Regions from separate parts of the Homo sapiens genome. Here region 1 is linked to region 2. The links are contacts of gene promoters, found by promoter capture Hi-C in human tissues and cell types (Jung and others, 2019). All regions are on one chromosome and are shown on one strand. Each heading gives the region's core, a stretch centred on a gene start or on the middle of the fragment in contact. The rest is flanking DNA. Distances are from core to core; before and after follow the strand shown. Region 1 has its middle 25 kb from the start of ZNF782. Region 2 holds the start of NUTM2G (NUT family member 2G).

Region 1 (6,851 bases), core at 2,996-5,495, 50 kb after region 2:
CGTAACTAAAATATGTAAGCATGCAGTTAAAACAATCATGGAATGCTCTTGCTACATGACTGAGACCAAGAGATTGATTCTTTCCTACTGATGCTTTCAGGAATATTTTCAATTAGAGGCTTGATATTTCCATAGTTTACAGTGATTAGAGATTAAAATGTATAATACTATCACCTTTTTAAATAAAATGGGAGTACATTTATAATAAATTAATATAATCTCTGTAATTTGCTAATTTACAATGGAAAAGAGAATCAAAAGATAATTCAAAATACCTGATTAAAGGAAGCCTACTATTTTAAAAAAGAAATGCCTAATTTTTTATTGGTGCTCAAACTTAAAAGGAATTTATCATATGAAATATGCAAAAGGAAATAATGCGAAATGTACTGGCCAATGGCTGCTAATATGGCTTTATGGTGAATCATAGTAGACATGTATGCTCGACCTCCAAATAACTAAAGCTGCTTCTGTCCAATATCTCAGAAAGTCATTTTTATTTTAAAAATGCAGATCTAGTAACTTTTCTCATAACCTTTAACATCCCTTTTTCACAGAGACTGTCTTAATGAATTTAGGCCTTTTTTGGTGAACACATTCTTTAGTCACCTCAATCTATATAAATATTAAATAGTTAACTATTGAAAGCCTGAACACTTGTATTAAAAATATTATTTCCTAATATTATTTTTTAGATTTCTGATTATATGTTATTACAATGAGTATACACACACACACACACACACACACACACACTCATACTTCCAAAATAGTTCATTTTATACAATCCAAGCTCTTGTGTAAATTAACAAGGAAGGCTTAACATTTATGTGGAAATGCAGAAGACGTAAATAACCAAAACAACTTTATGAAATAAAACAAAGCTAGAGGATTTACATTTTATTTAAATAATTAATATAAAACTACAGTATTTACGATAGTGTGATATTGGCATAAGAATGGACATATAAATAAATGGAGGAGAATATGAAGTCCAGAAACAGAAAATGAACATTTATGGTCTGAACAACTGATTTTCTACAGAGGTGCCAAGATACCTCAGCAAGGGAAGGATAGTCTTTTCCATAAATAATGATGGAACAATTAGATATTTGTAGAGGAAAAAAAGTTCAAGCCTTACTACATGTTCCATATCATACACAAAAATTAACACAAAATGGATTATAGTCTTTAATTTTTTTCCATTGGTTTATGCAACTTTATTGAAGAAAAGTAAATCAATTACCAGCAGAGCTATTGGTTGATCACTCATCCATTCACAATTTGTATCATTTACAACATAATATCTATTGGATGCACCTAAAGCTGTGCTTATAAGAAATTTAGAACATTAAATGTTTATATTAGAAAAGGAAAAGTCTCAAATTAACAATGTAAGTTTCTACCACAAGACAGAAAAAGGGAAGCAAAATAAACTAAAAGCTAGAAGAAGAAAGGAAATGATAAAGATAAGAGGAATCAAGAAAATTGAAAACATAAAAACAAAAGAGGAAATCAACCCAAAAGTTGTGGGGGGTTTTGGAAGAGATAAATAAAATTGATAAACATCTAGCAAGATTGACAAAGATGAAGAGAAGATGTAAATTACCAACGTTAGGCAGAAAACAGGGGTTCTAACTATAGAACCTACAGACATTAAAAGCTTAATAAGTGAATAATATGAACAAGTCTATCCAAAATTCAATAACTTAAATGTTCTAATTGCTTGAAAAACACGAAGAAGACTCACCAACTATAAAATAGATAATTTAAGTAGTTTTATATTAAAGAAATGGAATTCATAGTTTAAAACATGCTGAAAAGGAAATCTCCAGGCATAGATGTCTTCCTTGGGTAATTATACCAAACTTTTAAAGATGAAATGACATCAGTTTTACATAAATTATTCCAGAAAACAAAAGTGGAGAGAACACTTCCCAGCTTATTTTACAAAGCCAACATTATGCTGATATCAAAGCCAAAGACAGTACAAAGAAGGAAAACTATAGACCAATTCTTCTTCTGAACATGGACACAAAGTTTACAACAAATATCAGTAAATCATAGCTATTAATACATAAAAAGAAAGATACACTACAACTAGGTGTGGTTTATTCAGCAAATGCAAGGCTGGTTCAATATTTGAAAATCAACCAATGTTATCTGCAATTTTGACAGACTAAAGAAAAAATAAAACACCACAGGATCATATCAGTTGATGCGGCAAAAGCATTTGACCAGATCAAACATCCATTTATAATAATAACTCTCAGAAAACTAGAGCTAGAAGAAAACTTTCTCAACCTAAAAAACGAGGAACCACAAATTAACTAAAGCTAGCATCACACTTGATGGCTAAAGTCTCAATGCTTTTCCCCTAAAATCAGGACCAAGGCAAGTGTGTCTGATCTCCCCACTGCTATTCAACATAGTACTGGGAATCCTGGCCATTACAATAATGTAAGAAAAGAAAAGCTATACAAATTGGAAAGAAAAAATAAATCTATCCTTATTTGCAGATTGCATGGTTGTCTAGATAGAAAATCCCAAGGAATCTAAAAAAAAAAAATCTTAAAACTAATAAGTGGGTTTAGCAGGATCACAAAATGCAAAGCCAACACATAAATATCAACCATATTACGTATTAGCCAAAAACAATTGGAAACTGAAATAAAAAACATAATGTTATTTACAGTTGCTCCAAAAAAGCTCCCCACTACTATTCAACATAGTACTGGGAATCCTGGCCATTACAGTAATGTAAGAAAAGAAAAGGCATACAAATTGGAAAGGAAAAAATAAGTCTATCCTTATTTACAGATTGCATGTTTGTCTACACAGAAAATCCCAAGGAATCTACAAAAAACAAAAAAAAATCCTAAAACGAATAAGTGAGTTAAGCAAGATCACAGAATGCAAAGTCAACACATAAATATCAACCATACTACATATTAGCTAAAAACAGTTGGAAACTGAAATTAAACATAAGCTTATTACAATTGCTCCAAAAGAGCGAAACAAATCTAACAATGTTCCTCTTTTTAAGGCCATAGCTCTTGTTGGGATGGTCTTTTTTGCCAGGCTCTGGTAACATTTCCTTCCCCTCACATCAACCCTGGCGGTGATAATGACTTCACTGTCACTAGTCACAGGGCGTCTCACCAACTCTGCCCAGGCTTTGTAAAAGTCCCTTTTATTAGATGCCTTTAAGTGTCCCATTGTTTCTTTTTTTGTTTGTTTTTGAGACGGAGTCTTGCTCTGTCGCCCAGGCTGGAGTGCAGTGGCGCGATCTGGGCTCACCGCAAGCTCTGCCTTCTGGGTTCACGCCATTCTCCTGCCTCAGCCTCCCGAGTAGCTGGGACTACAGGCGCCCGCCACCAGGCACGGCTAATTTTTTGTTGTTGTTGTTTTTGTTTTTTTAGTGGAGACAGGGTTTCACCGTGTTAGCCAGGATGGTCTCGATCTCTTGACCTCGTGATCTGCCCGCCTAAGCCTCCCAAAGTGCTGGGATTATAGGCGTGAGCCACTGCGCCCGGCCTAAGTATCCCATTGTTTCTTAACAATTGACTATGCCAAAGTGAGGATTTTTATCTCTTTTATTCCTTGTTATTATGCCAGCATCTACAATGATGCCTGTCACACAGCAGGTTTTCAATAAGTGTCTGTTGAATGAATATATGTTTGGACCACTTTCTTTCCATTAAAACATGAATAGTAATTCTTTAAGCATTGTGTTTTTCTTTTTTTAAAAGAAATTTATGGTGCACCATTTGATGTTTAACCTTAAGCATTTCTATAAATCGGTTACCAAAAATGCTTGCTATCTGGTGTTGGAGTGGATGTGAGGAAACAGCATAAACTGATACAAGCCTCTTTGAGGACTCCCTGTTAGCATCTGTTACATGTTCATTTGTACACATTTTAACTGCACAATTCTATCATTTTGGCTCTTGTGCAAAGAAATAATCTCACAAATATCAAAAGATGCATGAACAATGCTATTTGCCACATATTATTTATAATAGTGAAAACTGGAAACAAACATCCATCACAAAGAATTGATTAAATAAACATGATATTCCCTACAATGTAGTTAAGGAACAGAAAGATTTCCTTCTCTATAGCCTGATCAGATAACTCGATTAGGAGACAATTTTACATGTTAAAAGAAAATTGTAAAGAAGTTGTAACCATGTTTTTAAAAATGCATTGTTTGCTGTAGCCTAAAGTGCAGAGTTAGGCATCAGTGGACAATTGGTCGTACTTGGGAGGTGGGCTGGATATTAGGAGGGGGAGCTACATTATAGCTTTATGCACTGCTATAATCAAATTTGCAGTGTCTAAATTTTTTAAAGAAACGTTTAAATGTATTTACTTTAAATAATAAGCAAGGGAGTCCGGACGCGGTGGCTCACGCCTGTAATCCCAGCACTTTGGGAGGCCAAGACAGGCGGATCACCTGAGGTCAGGAGTTGGAGACCAGACTGGCCAACATGGTGAAACCCTGTCTCTACTAAAAATACAAACAATTAGCCGGGCGTGGTGGCGCGCGCCTGTAATCCTAGCCACTGGGGAGGCTAAGGCAGGAGAATCTCTTGAACCCGGGAAGCAGAGGTTGCAGTGAGCTGAGATCGCAGCATTGCACTCCAGCTTGGGCAACAAGAGCGAAACTAGGCTTAACAGCCTTTTTCAGTACAGAACTTAAGGAGAATAAAATAACAAGTTAACAAGTTGCCAAGTTGCCAAGCTTACTACAAAGCGAACAAATATGGTTGGGTTGACTGTTTATTATACTGTTACCTTTAGTCTTTACGAGTTCAAGGATTTTTATATGGAAGACTGTATTTAATAAAACAGAAGCAGGGTATTTGAGTATTAATAAGCCAATTAAGTTGTTTATAGAAAATATATTTTTTTGTCCTTCCCCCCAAAAAGCACACATGATACCGAGTAAGCTTCATTTTTGCACAGACGGAAAATTCCGTCTGATGAAGAGGCACATCCACCGGGAACGACCCCAGGCAGGGAGACCAGTTTCTTTCCCGCTGTCCCGGGACTTTGCCGGGAAATTGCTTCAAGACCGCGGACCGCAAGGAACGGACCCCGCCCGAACCCCAGCCCACGGGGCCCCCAGATCTCGCGGAGCGAAGCCTGAGGACGCGCTCGGACGCGGGCCTATGGGGAAGCCCCCAGTCTTGGCGGAGCCAGGCGGGAGACGCGCGGAGGAAGCGGCGCGGCAGGGCGCTCGCTGCAGCCCCCTCTGCCAGGTACCCCCAGGAGGCTGGAGCCACGCGGGTCCGGGGGCGGCTTCGCCCCGCTAAGCACCCCGAAGCCGGGCTCCTGGGTGCCCCGCCAAGATTCAGAGGTCAGGGCCTCTACGTCTGGGCGCGTCCCCTGTCCCTGCGCAGCGGCATCTGGGGGTGTTCCTTCGCCCGCGGCCCCCAGGAAAGTTGCTGGGAAGCAAAGCTTCACGGGTGTGTTCACGGGGATCGCACTGACTTTGTGACCAACCCTTGGGTGAATAGGTGCCACTATTTAAATTTATCATCTCACGGAAGAAATTATTGATGTTACGGAATAATATTGAGCAGATACATGCTCAATATGTATAATTTAGTAAAAAGATGTTCCTATGATATTATGACCGTATTTCCCTGGTTTGGTTAAAAAAATCAACAGGTGCTCATGTAAAGTTTAAGTAGGGACATCTCTGGGAGATCCATGATTTGCCTGATAGCCATTTTTTTTTCTTTTTTCTTTTCTTCTTCTTCTTTTTTTTTTTTTTTTTTTTTTTTTTTTTTGAGTCGGAGTTCCGAGTTCAAGCAATTCTCCTGCCTCAGCCTCCGGAGTAGCTGGGACTGCAGGCGCCCGCCACCACACCCCGCTAATTTTTTGTATTTTAGTAGAGACGTGGTTTCACCGTGTTGCACAGGCTGGTCGCGAACTTCTGAACTCAGGCAATCCGCCCGCCTCGGCCTCCCAAAGTGTTGGGATTACAGGCGTGAGCCACAGCGCCCGGCCATAGCCATTTTTTTCTTATTTTGCGTTGTGCGTATTTTTTGGTTTTTGTTTCTTTTGTTCCCCTTTCCTGAAACCCTGTTGGTCAGGGTCACAGGTACTATTCTTTTATAGTAATGCTGTGCTCCGTGTGCAAGTATTTCATTCACATTTCACAGCCTTATTCCCAAGACATATTTGTATGTACCTTAACGTCTAGGGGCTGCTTTGAGTTGAAAAGGCAAACTGATGGAGGGAGGATCCTTGTTTTTCTTTCTTTCTTCCTTTGTATTGAAAAATGTTTAAGCACACAGAAACGTAGGAAACGGTAAAATGAGCATCTATCTATAGCCATGCATGTCCTTGATTTAAGAAAAGTTAACCTTTTGCCATATTCGCTTTGTTAGTTTTTGCTGAAAAATTGTAAAGTGAATTAACTATCCTTTCAATGTTAAATGCTTCCCTGTGCATGTCTTTATAAAAACTAGTATTTTCCAATATAACTCCACTTAACAGTTAAGAATAACGGCAATGTTCTTTAATATTTATAATTGCCAGTACACATTCACATTTCCCAAATTGTTTCCAACGTGTTTGGCAGCTGTTTTTTCCAATCGGGATTTGATGGAGGACCACGCACCGTATTCGGCAGCAAAGTTCAAATTTAACCCATAACCTCTAGGGGCTCTGGCAGAACCTGGCCAGGCGAGGCAGTCAGGAACATCTTCCAATCATCCAATAGAGAAAACGCTGCGAAGTAAGTCGTGGCGTGGAGGTTTCTGGGAAACGTAGTCTTAAATCCGAATGGCTCGCGCGCCACACTCTAGGAAAGGGTCTTCTGGATGACGTCTGCG
Region 2 (6,491 bases), core at 2,180-4,679:
GCCAGGCTGCCCTCTCCATGAGCCCCTTGTGGCCATGGCCCAGCGTTCCCTGGGGACACGATGGGGGCCACCTGGGCAGCCGGTGGTGGTGGTGGAAGAGGAAGGCCATGGGACCAGCCTCCCTCACAGGCCTGGGTGCCCCCAACCACCTGGGCAGAGGTAACGGGCACCCCAGGAGCAGCTGCCAGGAGTAGGGGAGGTGGACACATGACACCTCCACAGAGGGTGCCTGGAGCCTGCCAGACGAGGGGGGCCTGAGTTAGGATCAAGGTCTGTGCCTGAGGGGGCTTCACAGGCCCCACTTCTGTCCTCATCTGGACAAAGACGTTGGAAGCCCCAGCCCCACTTGGGCCGCGGCCATCCTGTCCTGCCACTAGAGGGGTGCTGGGGAAGGCAGAGAGCACCAGAGGGCCGGCTGGAGGAACCACTGCAGTCACGAGGGGCGGCCTGTGTGTTGGGCCGGGAGAGGGTGTGGCAAAGGGCAGAGCCGTGAACACAGACAGGGAGGTGCCAGGGTTCACGGTCACGCCGGGTCCCAGCACTGGGTATGCTGTGGAGACAAAGGAAAGAGGTGAATGAGCTGGCGTCTCCAGGTCCACTCTAGTCACTGGGGAATCAGGGGAGTCCCAACAGCTGAGGGCATGTGACAGGGAAACTCTGCAGCTTGCAAGTGTCCCTGAGTGTGCATCAGATGCTCTGTTCCTCCACGGCAGAGTCGCTCCACTAGAGAGCCTGGCGCCAGTCACCAAGACTCCCTGACCCTTGTCTGCCAAGAAGAAACAGCCAAGCCTTTGCTGTCTCTGAGGGTCTCCCTCGGGTGTCCCTGGCAGACTGCACCAGCCTCACAGGCATCTCCCAAGCCGTGGGTCAGGGATGAGTCTCTCGGTGGCTTGGTGGCTCTCAGTGTGCTCAGCAGCAGGTGAGGGGCCTACCCCAGGGCAGTGCTCGGCATTCAGAAGGCCGACAGGAAACCAGAAGTTTCCGAATATTATGGCCCCATCTCCTCTTCAGTCTTCCTTTCCCTGAAGCTCTTGTAAACCCCTTTCTTTCCTAGCTCAACACAACAAAAGAAAACCACTGGATAGGCCGGGCATGCTGGTTCATGCCTGTCATCCCAGCACTTTGGGAGGCCCAGGCGGGTGGATCACCTGAGGTCAGGAGTTGAAGACCAGTCTGGCCAACGTGGTGAAACCCCATCTCTACTAAAATACAAAAATTAGCTGATGATGCGTGCCTGTAATCGCAGCTACTCAGGAGGCTGAGACAGGAGAATTGCTTGAACCGAGGAGGCAGAGGCTGCAGTGAGCCGAGATCGTGCCACTTCATTCCAGCCCGGGTGACAGAGCGAGACTCCGTCTCAAAAAAAAAAAAAAAAAAAAAAAAAAAAAAAAAAAAAAAACCACTGGATGGAAACTCGCCCAAGCCAGCGCCCTAGGAACCCTGAAGATAACCCATAACACATAACGCCCAGCATGCAAGTGATTGTCCTGGCACCACCCACACAAGTGTTAAATAGGGGTCAGATTCAGGCCACCCATTCCTCAGTGCTCAGTGGTCCCAGCTGCCACTCAGGAAGCTCAGTTCCCAGGGAGCAGATCTGAGAAGCAGTGGTGGAGTCCCCTGAGATATTGTCATTGTGTAGCCAGCAACAGCTGCACATGACTAGAACACAGCCAGCAAATGGTGAGCAGCAGGGCTATCAGGGGAGGTGTCTAGGGATTTTCTTTTTTTTCTTTTTTTTTTTTTTTGAGACGGAGTCTCGCTCTGTCACCCAGGCTGGAGTGCAGTGGTGCGATCTCAGCTCACTGCAACCTCTGCCTCCCAGGTTCAAGCACTTCTCCTGCCTCAGCCTCCTGAGTAGCTGGGATTACAGGCTCCCGCCACCATGCCCAGCCAATTTTTGTATTTTTAGTAGAGACGGGGTTTCACCATATTGGTCAGGCTGGTCTTGAACTCCTTGACCTCGTGATCCACATGCCTTGGTCTCCCAAAGTGCTGGGATTACAGGCGTGAGCCACCGCGCCCGGCCAGGGATTTTCACAGCTGCTAGTCATGTTACACTAAATAGTGGGACAGGGAGCCCATCTCTGGTCCTTCTCCTTTGAGCTCCCAGTAACTGAACATAGGGACCAACGAAGAACCAGGGGTTCTTGGGCCACAGGCCAGGTGAGGCAGAGTTGTCTGGAACTCATCCCTGTTCACTAGGACCTCATGCAGTCTCTAGCCAAGGGGAATAAGGGATACAGCGCATGCACCTCATCAGTCAGGACACACATCCTAGTTTGAATAATAATAATAATAGGACTGTCTTCCTATTTGTGCGCTACTCTCCTTCCTCTACTGAAAAGGAAACCAGCCTTTTCAGAGCCTTCCACTGAGAACCAGCAAGAATCCACACCTGTCGCCCGTTCATGAGGTAGTATAAATGGAACAGGAGCAAATTCTTCACCTCCACAGTAACACAAAGTACAGAGGACGGGCCACGAGCTAGCTGACGAGAGGAAGTGGGTCTGAAGACCTGAGCTTCCACCAAAGGGCAAACAATTCAGAACAACTCAGGAAACCCAGGCCCTGTGTTGCCTGAACTTCCCCATTCTGCCCCCACCCCTGTTAAATCAAAGCCAACAGCTACCTGAACTGACGGAGAAGCCATCTCTGGGGAGGAAGCTGAGAGGCTCTGGGCTGTGGCAGTTACAGTGGCCCCCAGCCTTGCCCACCCAGAGGCTGTCACTACATGCTCTGTCACAGCCAACCCACCCAACAGTTTTCTGGCTGAGACCACTTCTCCCCACTCCTCTCTAAGAACTAGAAAACTCCAGTCCAAATCCCTCTAAACACTATGGAAGGGCACCTTCCAGGTGCCTGAAGACACGGCACAGGGCTCAGGCTTGCCCGTCATTCTCCCTGGGCCACCAGCACAACACGATCCCACCACTCCCTACAAACACAATGACGTGACCTGTCCCCCTCTAGAAAGGATCAAGCCATCCTCTCCATCCTTTCCACTACACGGTGTATTCCCCCAGGCATCTTGGTCCGCCTCTAAGGAGCCCTCCTCCCTAACCACAGACTCAGGGTGCCATGGCCATCCCCAGGTGTGATGTCCTTGGGGACATCCAGTGCTCCCTCAACATCAGCCCTATAAGCTGTCCCCAGGGACAGTTCAAATTTGAATTCCCAAGGAGTTGAGGCAAGGCAGACTAGGATAATGCCCCATCCCTACAGGCTCACCTCCATTTGAAGCCATCCCCTCAGGCTGGGCACTGACCACCACTGTCTGGCAGCTTCCGCAATGAAAAAAGTCAAGGGCAGGACCCAGAGAGTGACCTGACTCAGCAGATCCTCCTGAGTCCAAGTGGAGCAGGGATAATTTGCATATAAACAGGTTTGGAACACAGGACCCCAGACATTCTGCAGAGGGGGAGGGGCAGTGGGCAGCCGGGCTTGGCGGGGGTGGGGGACATTCTGTGAAGGGCTCTGGCCAGTAGGCAAGAACCTGAGGTTCCCTTGGTTCAGTTGGTTGCCATCCAACTGGATGGCAGCAACACAGACAGTGTGCGCCTCTTTAGGCAACTTTTAAATTGTCCTTCTGACTCACAGCAAAAGCTTCTACCTGATGTCCCCTTTACTTCCATTCTTTATCAACAGACCTACTTTTGTGCCAATCAACCCATGCTCCTTCCCACTTTGGCTCTTTCCCACTCTTGATGAATTTCAACAGGGGCCACACTTACTTAACAAAATTCAGAACACGTTTTCAGTCTGAGAAACACAGGGGTTCTTAGGAAGGCAAGGGGACTGAGTGTTTGAAATCAGAATGGCCTCAGCTGATCCAGGCTATTAGGTGGCTGTGTGCTCATCATTGTTTAGGAAGCAGTCCTTGTGCCCCCAGGTCATGTATGTTGCTGGAATCTGTCCACACCAGTAGGCCAGCCTTACTTCCCGTCCCCTTTCTTAGGAAGACTCAGTCCAGGAAAGAGTGGCTATGTGACCTACAGCACCGAGACCAGAAATCCTTTCATTTTGTTTCCCAGCATATTGTGCTGGTGTTAAATGTTTATTTTGTATCTTTTACATGATTTTAACTTAACTAAGCAATACTTTTGCATGGTTCCAAATTCAAATTGTGCACAGTGGAATAGGCAATGACCAGCCTTCCTCCCACCTCTTTTCTCTGGCCACCACATTTTCTTTCCTGGAGGAAATAGGTGTTACCTGATTCTTTTTCATCTTTCCAGAGATATATTATGCAATCAAAAGCATAATGAAGCTATTTTTGCTGTCTAAAAATATTTTCAGTTTTTTGGGGGTAAAAATTAATATATTAATATGTTCTAGTATTCTTCTGATATTTGCAGTGACTGTATTTGTCCCAGTAATGTGGTTCCTCTCTTTATTTCTGTAGGTAAATTGCTAGAATGAGATGTTGGACTGTTTTTTAAAATTAAAAATACATGAAAGAACATAGTGGCCAGATTTAGCAAGTATGAATAAAGAATACCAAGTGGAATTTGAATTGAAGATAAACAGTGAATTAGTTTTTACTATAATTATGATCCATATGACATTTACAGTACACTTTTACAAAAAAAATCTGTCCTTTATCTGTGCTATTCACATTTCACTGGGATCTTGCACTTTATCTGGTAACTCTTCCCAAAAAAGTGTAACATATTAGGCAATTATTGTTAACTCTCCACTGTGAGAGTGCAAACTTGCAGTAAGGAGACTCAAGTGTGAATCTTGGCTGCACCACAAAAAGATTCTGCACCACAACCATTGCAGAAAACAATAGCAGGCTGATTTGATGAAAGGAAGTCAGGAGTAGCCATTATACTGTTCTCAGCTTCCAGGTTTAGTGGCAGTACGCACAGTTTTAAGGGACAGGAGAGCAGAACACCGTCTTTTTCTTTCCTAACATAAAGTGGCTTACAATTCCTAGAACTCTGGTTTCTCCAGGAGTTAGAAATCCACAACCCACGTCCATTCTGAGACAAGCAAGGATGCTAACCACCAATGTCCCATCCCCATTCTCATGCATCCCCTCGCATGTGTGAATCCTGGCTGGAGTCTCTCAGCTCATTGCTGTCCTCATCTTCATCACAAGTGTCATCACATGTGGTTCTCAGCATGGGAATTATTGTAGCCTGTCTTTAAAAAAATCTTCATTCTCATTTTCACACAGAATTGCTGTTTATCAGCGTCAGAATGACAGGAAAGAGCACTCATGTTCTGTGTTGTGAACAAGGGGAGTGTTAGGAAACTGGCCAAAGGAGATGAGGAGTGAGTACTCAGAGCACAGCAAGAAAATCTGAGACACAGATGTCACTCCCTGCTGGGCAGCAGTCTTTTGCACTGATGGGTGGGTGTTGGGGAAGGGAAGAGGCCTTCAGCCGGACCAGTGCACACTGTGAACATTCACTGAAACACACCCTGTTGGCACTTAAGAAGCATTTGCCCCTTTCGAAGACATTTGGACTCAAGAAGGCAGAGTTGCAGAAAACGTAACAGGCCACACTGCAGGGGCAGGCAGTGGATTGCAAGTCTCAAGCCCAGGGTTCTCCCCTCCTTGCCTGGGTTGTGGGAAAAAGTCATTTCCTAACTCCTATCCAATATCCTCATGAGTTCTCGGTTTTGTCCCAACTCTAAAACTGAATGGTCCAGCGAGCATTTCTATGAAATGCCTCCACAGTGGCCACTGGGAGGGGAGTGTCCTCCACACAGTGACTGCCTGTCTGGATGCTCCCAGGCCTTTTGTCCTCCGAGACAGAGCTGCCTCCTTACATGCAGCCCTCTTCTGCTGTGCAACTCTACCTCGATCTTAGCTGAGAAGATCAACGGAGAGCAATTCAAGCAAAATCATGGTAAACTTACCAAAACCAAACCAAACAAACAGTAAATGCTTTGGAGATCTTTCTGAGGACGCGATCTTTTATCACGGGGCAAAAACTTAAATGATTTTCAATCAGTAACTTCATCTAAGAGGGATGTTGAGGCAAAATATCACACTCAGGCACTGAAGAAGGGCAGAATTCTTGTTTGCTTCCTCCCTTGTCAAGTTAGTCAGTCAATGCTTTCTCAAGATGCTCACACATGGCTTTGATACAGGATTTGAATGAGTCTTTTTCTGAGCCACTGATACAAAAAGTATATTGTGGAAGTGTCTTGTTTCAATTCTGCAATCGCTTCTGTATGTGTTTGAAGTCCTAGACCCCAGGAGGAGAGACAATCAAATTAGCCAAAGGTAATTTGTGAAGACTGGCCATAGAAGGTGGTGGCTAAAAGTCCTCTGGCCCCTGCTCTCTGAGCATGCCCACAGAAAGTCCTGGGCCACACTGACTGCTGAGAAACATCATCTCAGGGCTTGGATCCCCTGTTCAGAGGACAGATGCTCTTCCACCCAATCACTGAACAGTAGAGGAATGGCGGCTCCATGCTGTGTCTGGCAGAGCTGTCAGTCTCTGCACTTGAGGCCCTAGGCCGTCATAGAC

What was found. Contacts are between HindIII fragments. The study calls those that stand out against the background at their distance.
Region 1: a contact is called between a fragment that was not itself captured here and the fragment with the promoter of NUTM2G in region 2, in 3 of the 25 tissues and cell types used here (dorsolateral prefrontal cortex, lymphoblastoid cells and thymus).

Annotation. Positions count from the first base shown.
Region 1 is chr9:96,875,894-96,882,744 of GRCh38, reverse strand. It overlaps a transcript of ZNF782 not described here. Among named protein-coding and RNA genes, the nearest start is that of ZNF782, 25 kb to the right of the region's middle. The HindIII fragment of the contact is 3,838 bases long and covers 2,327-6,164 here.
Region 2 is chr9:96,925,781-96,932,271 of GRCh38, reverse strand. NUTM2G (NUT family member 2G) reads right to left here and starts at 3,429. Exons shown (of 7, transcript NM_001170741.3): 1 at 3,232-3,429; 2 at 1-550. The coding sequence starts at 3,247. It also overlaps a transcript of ZNF782 not described here. RefSeq lists enhancers at 1-449, 450-1,335. The HindIII fragment of the contact is 14,444 bases long and covers 1-6,491 here.